Linked DNA regions of Homo sapiens: region 2 is linked to region 1. Evidence: promoter capture Hi-C in human tissues and cell types (Jung and others, 2019). All regions are on one chromosome and are shown on one strand. The core of a region is centred on a gene start or on the middle of the fragment in contact, and the rest is flanking DNA. Distances in the headings are between cores, read along the strand shown.

Region 1 (4,613 bases), core at 1,498-3,997:
TAGCCATGGGCATCTTAGCTTTGAACAGACCATGCAGATAACAGATCAGGCAGATAACTACACTGCTTAACTATCAAACCTAAGCAACCAAGACGCAGATTAGAGCATTTTCCACTGCATAGAACTGGAAAGGAAAGCCAAAGCCACATACCTATTGCTTTTTCTTTCTTCTGCAAGATTTCTTGTATAATCGGAGGTCTGGTAAACTGGGTTTGTGTTGGGCCTCGTAGAAATCGTGCTAATAGGGAATCTGAAGAAATCAGGACCAATATAAGGCCTGGGATCCTCTCCCTACACCGGAGCAAATGATAATGTGTAATGAAGCTATGGACGCAGGTGAATTTCACATTCTTTCATTTAAACAAAACAAAACAAAAAAGGTGGGTATTGGCCGCCTTTAGCTCAGTGAAAGCATCACCTAGTACAGGTGTCCTCATTTGCTTGACCATAAAATCACCTGAGGCACTTATTAAAAAATAAAGATTCCTAAGCCTTGCATTTTATGGTTCTGATTTCACCCCAGGTGACCTACTACAATTGAAAAATGCCATGTATTTATATAAGGGAAAAACAGATTGATCTAACAAAGCGAAAGCAGTGTTTTTGTTAAGTTCCCTGGGTTTTGTAGCAGTAGGTGTTTTAGTGGCAATATTTTTACCAACCAGGCCTGAAGCAGTGAACTCAAAAATCTCAATTTTTTAATTAAATGGCCTCCCCAACACCCTCAACCTCCCACCCCACTCCTTTTTAGTGGGAGGGGCTGTCTTTTAGTGAAGGATTCTTGCTTTTCTTTTCCATATTTCATGAGTCTACAGAACTCACAGACTGGATGCCTTTTATTTTAAAAACTTTACTGAATCCATCAGCTTTCAGAAGAGACAATTTCTTTCCAAACCATTCTGAAGATATAAAATTACACCTTAATGAAAATGACTGTGACCTCACAAGGAGGTTGTCAAGTCACCCACGTTTCCTTACAACTCCAAGAAGGATTAACAGAAATAAACCCAAATGCTTTGAATGCTTACAACTTTACTGGTGAATTAATTATATGTCATTCAGGGACATTCAAAGCAACATAAACTATGTAAACCACTTTCCTAACCGGTCAAAACACACATTTTAAATACATGCTGGTCGCGGGAGATGAAAACTGAGAAAGTTTCATGACTGTGACCTCAACTAACATCTGTAAACTACATCTTTTTCCTCCCTAGAGAATGAAAGCTGATCTATTTACTCCTGGCAGAGAAGAAAGGAGGAAGGACGTCCAGGTGCTACCAGAAAACCATTTGTGAGGACATGGACCAGTGCCAAGGTCACAGCCCACCTGAATAGAACTTGAAATCCAGGCACACCCAGTCCAGGGGAGCCCTGAGTTCTTCCTGAACTTAAACACTGGGTTTAAAAAAAAAAAAACAGTCACAGGTGCGGGGACACTGGTCCCCTGCCTGCTGCGAAGTAGATAACGCGAGGACAGCCTCAAAACAACTCCAGACGCTTCGGGTGCCTGAGCCTCACTCGGTGGGGGCGGCGCAGAGGTCCACGTGCAGTACGCGAGCTGGGGAGGTGCGGGAGCCCGCGCTCTGCCCGTGCGCCGCCGACCCACTCACTGCCGCTCGGGGCTTTGGGTTCCCCCCATGCAAAAGGAGGACCATGCTATGTCATCAAGGGCTGATGCGAAGAAGAACCCAGAAGCAGGCGTCAATAAGTAACGAAAGAATGGGGGTAGCCGTGCCTAATATCGTTGCTGCCGTGGCAATTACTGCAACGGAGGCTTGAGAGTTAGGGCGCCAGAAACGCAAACTTTCCAGGGGACCAAACTCATCCAAGCCTCCTAAGGGGCCTGTGGAGACCTCTGCCCGCTCTGGGCCCCGCCGCCGTCCGCGGTCCGCGCCACCTTTCCCGCGGCTGGCTCCAGGCGGGGCGGGGCAGCGGCGGCGCGGGCCGGGCGGCGGGGAAGGGAGGGAGCGCGGTTGCACACGCGGGCCACTGCCCCCAACGGCTGCGCTGGGCTCGCGGCGCCGTACCCCGAACGCCGCAGCCTCCGCCTCCGCCGCCGCCGCCACCGCCACCGCCACCGCCGTCGCCGTCGTCGCGGCTGCCGGGGCCGCCGAGCCCCGCCGCACTCGCTCCGGGCGGGCTCACCCTCCTCGCGGGACAGGGGGGCGCAGCGCGCAGTCCCGGGGAGCCCTCCTCGCCTCGCCGCCGCGCTGGGCCCGGGCCCCCCCTCGCGGCCCCAGCAGGTGGAGGCGCCCCGCGCCCCGCTCCGCAGCCCCCTCCCGCTGCGCGCCAGCCCGCGCGGGCGCAACTTTCTTAAAGGGACAGGTGGACCGAATCCGCGTCCACCTGGGGCCCCGTCTCTGCCTCCCGGCCCGTCCTCCACTTTGGGGGAGAGAGGGGGTTGCAACAGATCTCTCCGCCCGCCCACGTCCTTTGCCCCAGGCGGGATTGCAAGTTTTAATGCACCCAGCCTCCTTTTGCAACTTAATTCCCTTGGCCGAAATCACCCTCCCACTGCTCCTCAACGCATGCTCTCGGGCATGCAGTTGTTGTCACTGTTGGCAAAGTTTGAAGAGGGGTCCCTACCCCTGCACTCCTCCGCCCCGCCCCCCTCACACACACCCCCCCCCCAGAACCCCGGGGCGTGCAAGGCTCGCGGCTGCTGGGAAACGCCCGCTGCAATCCCCTTGACCCTGCCCTGTAACTGACCCTTGGGGAAAAGCCCCCCGCACGGCTACTGCGCATGCTCTGAGCTGGACAGCTCCAGAGAGGGAAATTTAAAAACGGTTCGAGCTGCGACGGCGGCCAAATTGCGGAACGCGAGGGGCGAGCGCGAGGGAGCCCCCCTCCGGAACCCCTGCCCACCCCCGGAGCGCCGGCAGCGGCGGCCCCGCGAGGATCGGCTCCAGGTACCGCCTTGCAGGGTCGGCTTTGCTCCCTCCTCCCGGGCAATGCCGGGCATTGCATTTCCAGGGTAGAGACCCGGGCGCAGGGGCTGCGGGGCCGCCTCCCTCTGCTCCCTTTTCCTCCTTCCTGGGAATCCTTCGATGGCTTTGGGGGCGGAACTGAGGCTTTGGTGGGCTTTTATGTTGGTTCAGGCTTGGAGTTTGAGAAACTTAGGGAACTCAAATATTTTTATTATTTTTTTAAGGCAGTGTTTGTGTGTTGCGGGGACGTGGGTGGTTGGATTGGTTTTCCAGTAAGGGCTTGTGGCATTTCTGAAGGCATTTCAGGGCAGGAGCTTGCGGGGATTATTCCCTTTGCAAGTGGGAATTTGTTCCCCCAGAGAAATACACATGTCACATCCAGCTGCCCCTTATTTTGAAAGTGATCATAACCAAACTGAGGTTGAAAATATAAGGCTTGGAAGGAAATCGTTTTTCTGATTCCTATTTTGTGAGTCCACATTTTCCAGGTTTGACATTTGGATTCTAGAGCTTCCCTTGCTCTTCCCCCATTAATTCGAAAGAACCGGGAATTTCATTTCATTCTCTTCATTTGTTTCTAAAACGCTGTAGAATTGCCCTGGGAAAGTGACCTGAGATGCCCAGGAATCCTCTAGAACTTTTTTCTTTAAAGAAAAAAAAAGTGTTCTGTGAGTTGATTGTGCTCCATCTTTCTGAATTGCGGGAAAACTGTGGGTTTCTGCCCTGTCCATATCGTCGCTGATGGGAGCTTTGTTTTCTGCTTGTCTTTTCCCAAGGAGATGATAGAAAGTGACACCTCATCCATAATGTCAGGAATTATTCGAAACTCAGGGCAAAATCACCACCCCTCTCCACAGGAATACAGGTGAGGGCTCCAACAATAACAAACTATATATTTTTTAATTGCTCAAAGTGTTTGTATGCTGTTTATGGTTTCTGAAACTGCCCAAGAACTATTGTTATGTTCAATTCTGTGATTTTTGCGGGAGAGCTGGAAAGTCTTGATTTCAATGTTGGTCTTGCTAAGGGTGTCTGGGCCACAACCTGGCCCAGTGGGACCACGAAATGCCTGCTGTCTCTTGTCCCCTCCAAAAGAGGTCCGTTTCTGCATTTGATACTGTTTGGGCATCCTGGTGAATGTTAAGATGACAATAGCAGCTACTGCTTCCCCTCCAGTGGCCTTAATGGGGGCTGTGGGAAATGCTCCCCCACCCCCTGCCAAAAAAAAACCTTCTGGGAGGAATTGGGTTCTATCCTCCACAGATGTTAAGAAAGTAGTCAGATATGCTAAGTTCTCAGCCAGGCTGTGTGACATTCAGCAAGTCCTTTGCCCTGGGCCTCACTTCCTCATCATTTAATTGATCTTGTTGAAGTAGATGATCTTAAGGTTTCTTCTAGGCCTCATGTGTTTGAAGAGTAAATTAGATGGAAACTGAGGCCTTGAAACAGGGTGAAGCAAGGTACAACTGAGAGGATGCATGGAAGCCTTCAGAGCCCTTCTGTCTTTTTTTGTCTTCAAACATCATAGCCAAAAAGGCCTTTAGGAGGTCAACCAGTCTGCGCACCCCCTATTTTTTTTACAGTTGGGGAAACTGAGGCCAAGAAAGGGGAAAGGGCTTGTCCAAGGTCTCCAGGAGGGAAAAGGAGGAAAAGGAAGGACCTGGAGTCCCCTCCCGGCCTCTT
Region 2 (4,585 bases), core at 1,936-4,435, 1.6 Mb after region 1:
ATAAACATGTAAGTACTTGTATGCTTTAACTATTATTTCCTGCCTCTGAACTTTTGTTGCTCCTTATGATATAGCCTCAAAAAGCTGTAAATTTTGATCTTTAATATTATTTCTAAGTAAGTATATTTATAGTTACAGAGACACACTGACAGGACCAAGGAAAAGAAAGCTTCCTTCAGGTTGTACCCTACTGTAAGGCAATCCTGTCTCTAGGGCACTGTGAATTAATACATAAATTGTATAAATATTGCAATTATATTGTGAATGGTACAAGTACATTGCATTCCATTGCTGGGGGGGGGGGTAAAAGGGATAATTTCTTATATGCAAATATTTATATATCTTATGTGCAAATATTTAAAATAAATAGAAATTTTTATAATCTTATTTTGGCCTCTTTTTGTACTTTTGTACTTTTTTTTTAGTAGATTCGGATTTCACCATGTTGGCCAGGCCGGTGTCAAGCTCCTGACCTCAAGTAATCCTCCTGCCTCGGCCTCCCAGAGTGCTGGGGTTACAGGTGTGAACCACCACACCCGACCTCTTTTTGCCCTTATAATTGGAGCCTCCAAAATGGATGTGACCTGGATTTCTCTTGACCTCCCAGAAGCCCTAATCTAGGCCAAAGTACCAGGATTGGAAGAAGCTAAAAACCCCAGAAATCCCTCTGAAGGGCCGAACTGTCAATACCTGAGCTCTGGTATCATAAGTTGCCCCGTGATGACACAGCCGAATGGGATTGGACTTGGCTCAATCTAGCTCATCCCAGAAGCTGTTCATGTTGCTTTTCCTGTGGTTGGAGAAACCATGGAGGAAGTGCTGGCCCCTATTCCTTCAATATTGCTGTGAATGTTCCTTTGCTTTGCAGTGAATGGAGGCTCAACCCCATCTCCCAGAACAGAGCTTCTTAACCTCAGCACTACTGACATTGGGACTGGAGAATTCTGGGTTGTAGAGACTGTCCCACACAGTGTAGGATGTCCAGCAGCATCCCTTGCCTCTGCCCAATAGTAGCAACCCATTGCCAGCTGTGACAACCAAACACGTCTCTAGACATTGCCAAATCTTCCCCAGTAGAGAACCACTGCCACAGAATAAATAGAAGGATTCATGAGGCAGGTAGTTTGCTAAACTTTGTCCAAGTAATGTGATTAGTCTCCCCTGGTCTGATACTTTAGCGAAGGCCGTGATGATGTTGTGTATAGTGGTAGTGGTGTTGGCGGGGAGAGGTTGGCCTTGTATTATCTGGATAATTGATCAGTCCTCCTTCATGCCATGTTGTAGACAGGACCACGGTCTCCTTTGGGTGAAAAGAAACACTTCTTTGTACTACTGAAAAAGTCATGTTTCATTAATATGATGACAGGGACATAACCTAAAGGCTGAAATCTTAGGAGTTTGGGGCATTCTGTAAAAATCGATTTCTTATTATTACTTTTATATTCTCAGAGGACATTTCTAAGGAAGACATTTCAAATTGTGACTTTTGCCCCCTAGATGTACCATTCAGAAGGCCCCCTTTAAGCTGTCTTAATGCATCTGGGCTGCTCTCACAAAAATGCCATAGACTGGGTGGCTTAAACAACAATTTATTTGTCATGGTTCTGGAGCTGGGAAGTCCAACATCAAGGCACCAGCAGATGAAGTATCTGGTGAGAGCCTGCTTCCTGGTTCATAGACTGCTGTCTTCTCACTGTGTCCTTACATGGCAGAAGGGGTGAGGGAGCTCTCTGGTGTCTCTTTTATAGGGGCACTAATCTCATTCATGTGGGCTACCCTGTCATGACTACGCATCTCCCAAACACCCTGTCTCTTAATACCATCACATTGATGATTATGAATTTTGGGGGAATACAGTCACTCAGTCTATAGCACAAGCCTTACAAAAACTTCCTTCTCTTGAATCCCTTTCTCTGCTCTTTCCCCTTAGTGGCCCATCTGTCCTACTTTGGGCACAAGCTGGTTTTGGCAAACCTCACACATGTGTATGTGCTTTTAGAAAAAGCCCTTAACCTTCTGTGTCATCATTCTCCAGAATGGAATGGTTTTTGTCTAATGATTGGTAAAGAAGCTATTCATAAAGTTGTCAGCAGAAACAGGTGGCTGGAAAGGATGATTGCTTGCACAGTGTTCTAAAGCTTTTTCACAGCGTTCCCCTGGTGAGAGACAGCAGGGTGAAAAAACATCTAATGGGTAAGGTAATTTAACAGAAATTCATAGCGGGTTTGAAAAACATCTCACACCTCTAGTGAGAGGAGAAATCATTGGCAATAGATGGGTGCACAAATGACTTTCAGAAAATGCCTCAGAGAACATGGAGTTCTTAAAATGACTTATTACAGATGAATACAAAGACATCTTAAGGATCTTACCTGAGTCCTGACCATATATATAGATGATCTTTTTTTTTTTTTTTTTTTTGAGAGTCTCGCTGTGTCATCCAGGCTGGAGTGCAGTGGTACGATCATGGCTCACTGCAGCCTCGACCTCTCAGGCTCAAGCAATCCTCCCCACTTCTCCCACTTCAGCTTCCCAAGTAGCTGGGACTACAGGTGTGCACCACCACACCCAGCTAATTTTTTATTCTTTTGTAGAGATGGGGTCTTACTATGTTATCCAGGCTTGTCCCAAACTCCTGGGTTGAAGTGATGCTCCCGCCTTGGCCTCCCAAAGGGCTAGGATTACAAGCATGAGGCACCATGCCTGGCCTAGATTGTCTTTTTTTTCAGGCATCATTTCAAGTATCCTCTGAGAGAGAGGAACAGAAGAACCTGATACCATTGCAGTGACCTGGGAGAACAGAGCAGTCCTTCTCAGACCTCAGTGTGCTCAGCACTGGGCCTCTGGTTAAAATGCAGATTCCATGTAGTAGGTCTGGAATCGAGGCTGACATTCTGCATTGCCAACAAACTCCCAATGATGCAGAAGCGACTGTCCGGCTCCACTTTGGAAAGCCAGGAAGTAGAGTACTTATTTGGGAAAAAGCTACAAATGCTCACACAGTTGGAGAAGCAGTGATCCAGCAGAGAAGTTACTTGACTTGCCCAAAGTTGCAAACAACAGTGAGAGTGAGTGAGATCTGTGGCTGGCGCTCCTGGTTCCTGAGCCCGTGTTCAAGTCTAGATTACGCTGTTTCCCTCATTCCAAGTACAAGGAGTAGCTGCTGCACTGTGACCTCCCCATTGGACAATGAAAGGATTTTACGCCCCACTTCAAGCTGCATCCTACCCAAATCTACCTAATGAGCCATTACCCTTCTTTAAAACAACTGTGTGACCAGACCACTTAGGAGTGTGGAGTGTGACCACTTAGGACTCCACACAATGAGCCAGAACCGTCCAACTCAAGGCTGGTGTTTCTGAAGGCTTGCACTGGGAGGAGCGCCCCCTGCCGCTCAGCCCTGAGTCCACAACCCCACCTGCACGTTGCTCAATGTCCTGACCTCCTGCTGTCTCAACATCAGAGCTATTTACCGATTTCCTCTCTTTGCTAAAACAACAACCACCACAACAACAAACTTCTCATGAACTGGGGTTTCTCAATCTGCCCTCGTACTTTTGCTCCCCAAGAATTCAGTGCTGTATGTACAGTGGGAAATGGAAACAATAGAACCATGTTTCAGCTGAAACTGGCACAGTTAAAAAAAAACACCAACCACGAAAAAACTAGAATGCCTACATAAGCTTGGGGATTTTTTCGTGCTTTATGCTTAAGACGCTTTTGAAAGGTTGCAGCTAAAAGTAAAATTTGTTTTGATAGCATTCTCAGCAACAGAAAGCAAATGAATCTCTTGTCCTCCCCATGGAAGTAAAAAGAAGGAGCCCAGTTGCTGCTCTGGAGAAAGTGGCCATGGAATTTACCTTCTCTGTCCTTAGAATGAAAGGCCTCAAAGCAGCCTTCGTTTGCAGGCTTTGCAGGACTTTGCTGATGTAAAAAGCCTTAGAAGCCGTTGAGTCTTTGAAGTCTTTCTTGGCTCTAACAGGAGGCTAAAAGCCAAGTCTCTCGAATTCGGCTTGTTCCCTGGGCCTGGAAAGAGACTGAAATCCATCTTGGTGGCCACCCAACCACACCTGCTCCACCACACCCTGCGATAACAGAGTGAGACCCGGAGGCCAGGAGATGCCTTTTGGGGGTGTGTCCTTGGTAAGTGAGGCGCATCACTGAGTGACTGTTTGGGGTGAAATCAGCCTTTAGGGAACATTTCTCAGATACTTTTCTTGCTTTACCAAACAAGGCTGAGCATCCAGGTTGGTGGGACCTCGGCCCAATAAAAGCCAAAAATCCGAGTTAGTGTATTAGTACAGAGAAAAACAAAGTGAGTATAAAGAAAAAAGTATTTAAAAAATCTGAGTTAGGAAAGGTGCAGGCTCAGATAAAAGACACAAAATGGGCCAGTCACATCTCCTTCTGGACCCAGTGCCCAGCTGAGCTTGACCATGACAATCAGTAACCGTGGACCTGCCTGCCAGAGGCGCCCGGCTGTCCTGGGGTGGTGGGTCCTCAGTGGCCGTCCGTCCCCACTCCTGCCACCTCATGTCACGCCAAGAGTTGGCTTGGCAGCAACTAAGTCCCCCAAGCTGTGTCT

The links. The method cuts DNA at HindIII sites, captures the fragments that hold promoters and counts their contacts. A contact is called where the count stands out against the background at its distance.
Region 2: a contact is called between a fragment that was not itself captured here and the fragment with the promoter of FOXN4 in region 1, in 1 of the 25 tissues and cell types used here (lymphoblastoid cells).

The regions. Positions count from the first base shown.
Region 1 is chr12:109,307,418-109,312,030 of GRCh38, reverse strand. FOXN4 (forkhead box N4) reads left to right here and starts at 2,747. Exons shown (of 10, transcript NM_213596.3): 1 at 2,747-2,912; 2 at 3,707-3,795. The coding sequence starts at 3,710. It also overlaps a transcript of MYO1H not described here. The HindIII fragment of the contact is 10,264 bases long and covers 1-4,613 here.
Region 2 is chr12:107,670,043-107,674,627 of GRCh38, reverse strand. No RefSeq gene overlaps it. Among named protein-coding and RNA genes, the nearest start is that of PWP1, 13 kb to the left of the region's middle. The HindIII fragment of the contact is 4,062 bases long and covers 1,155-4,585 here.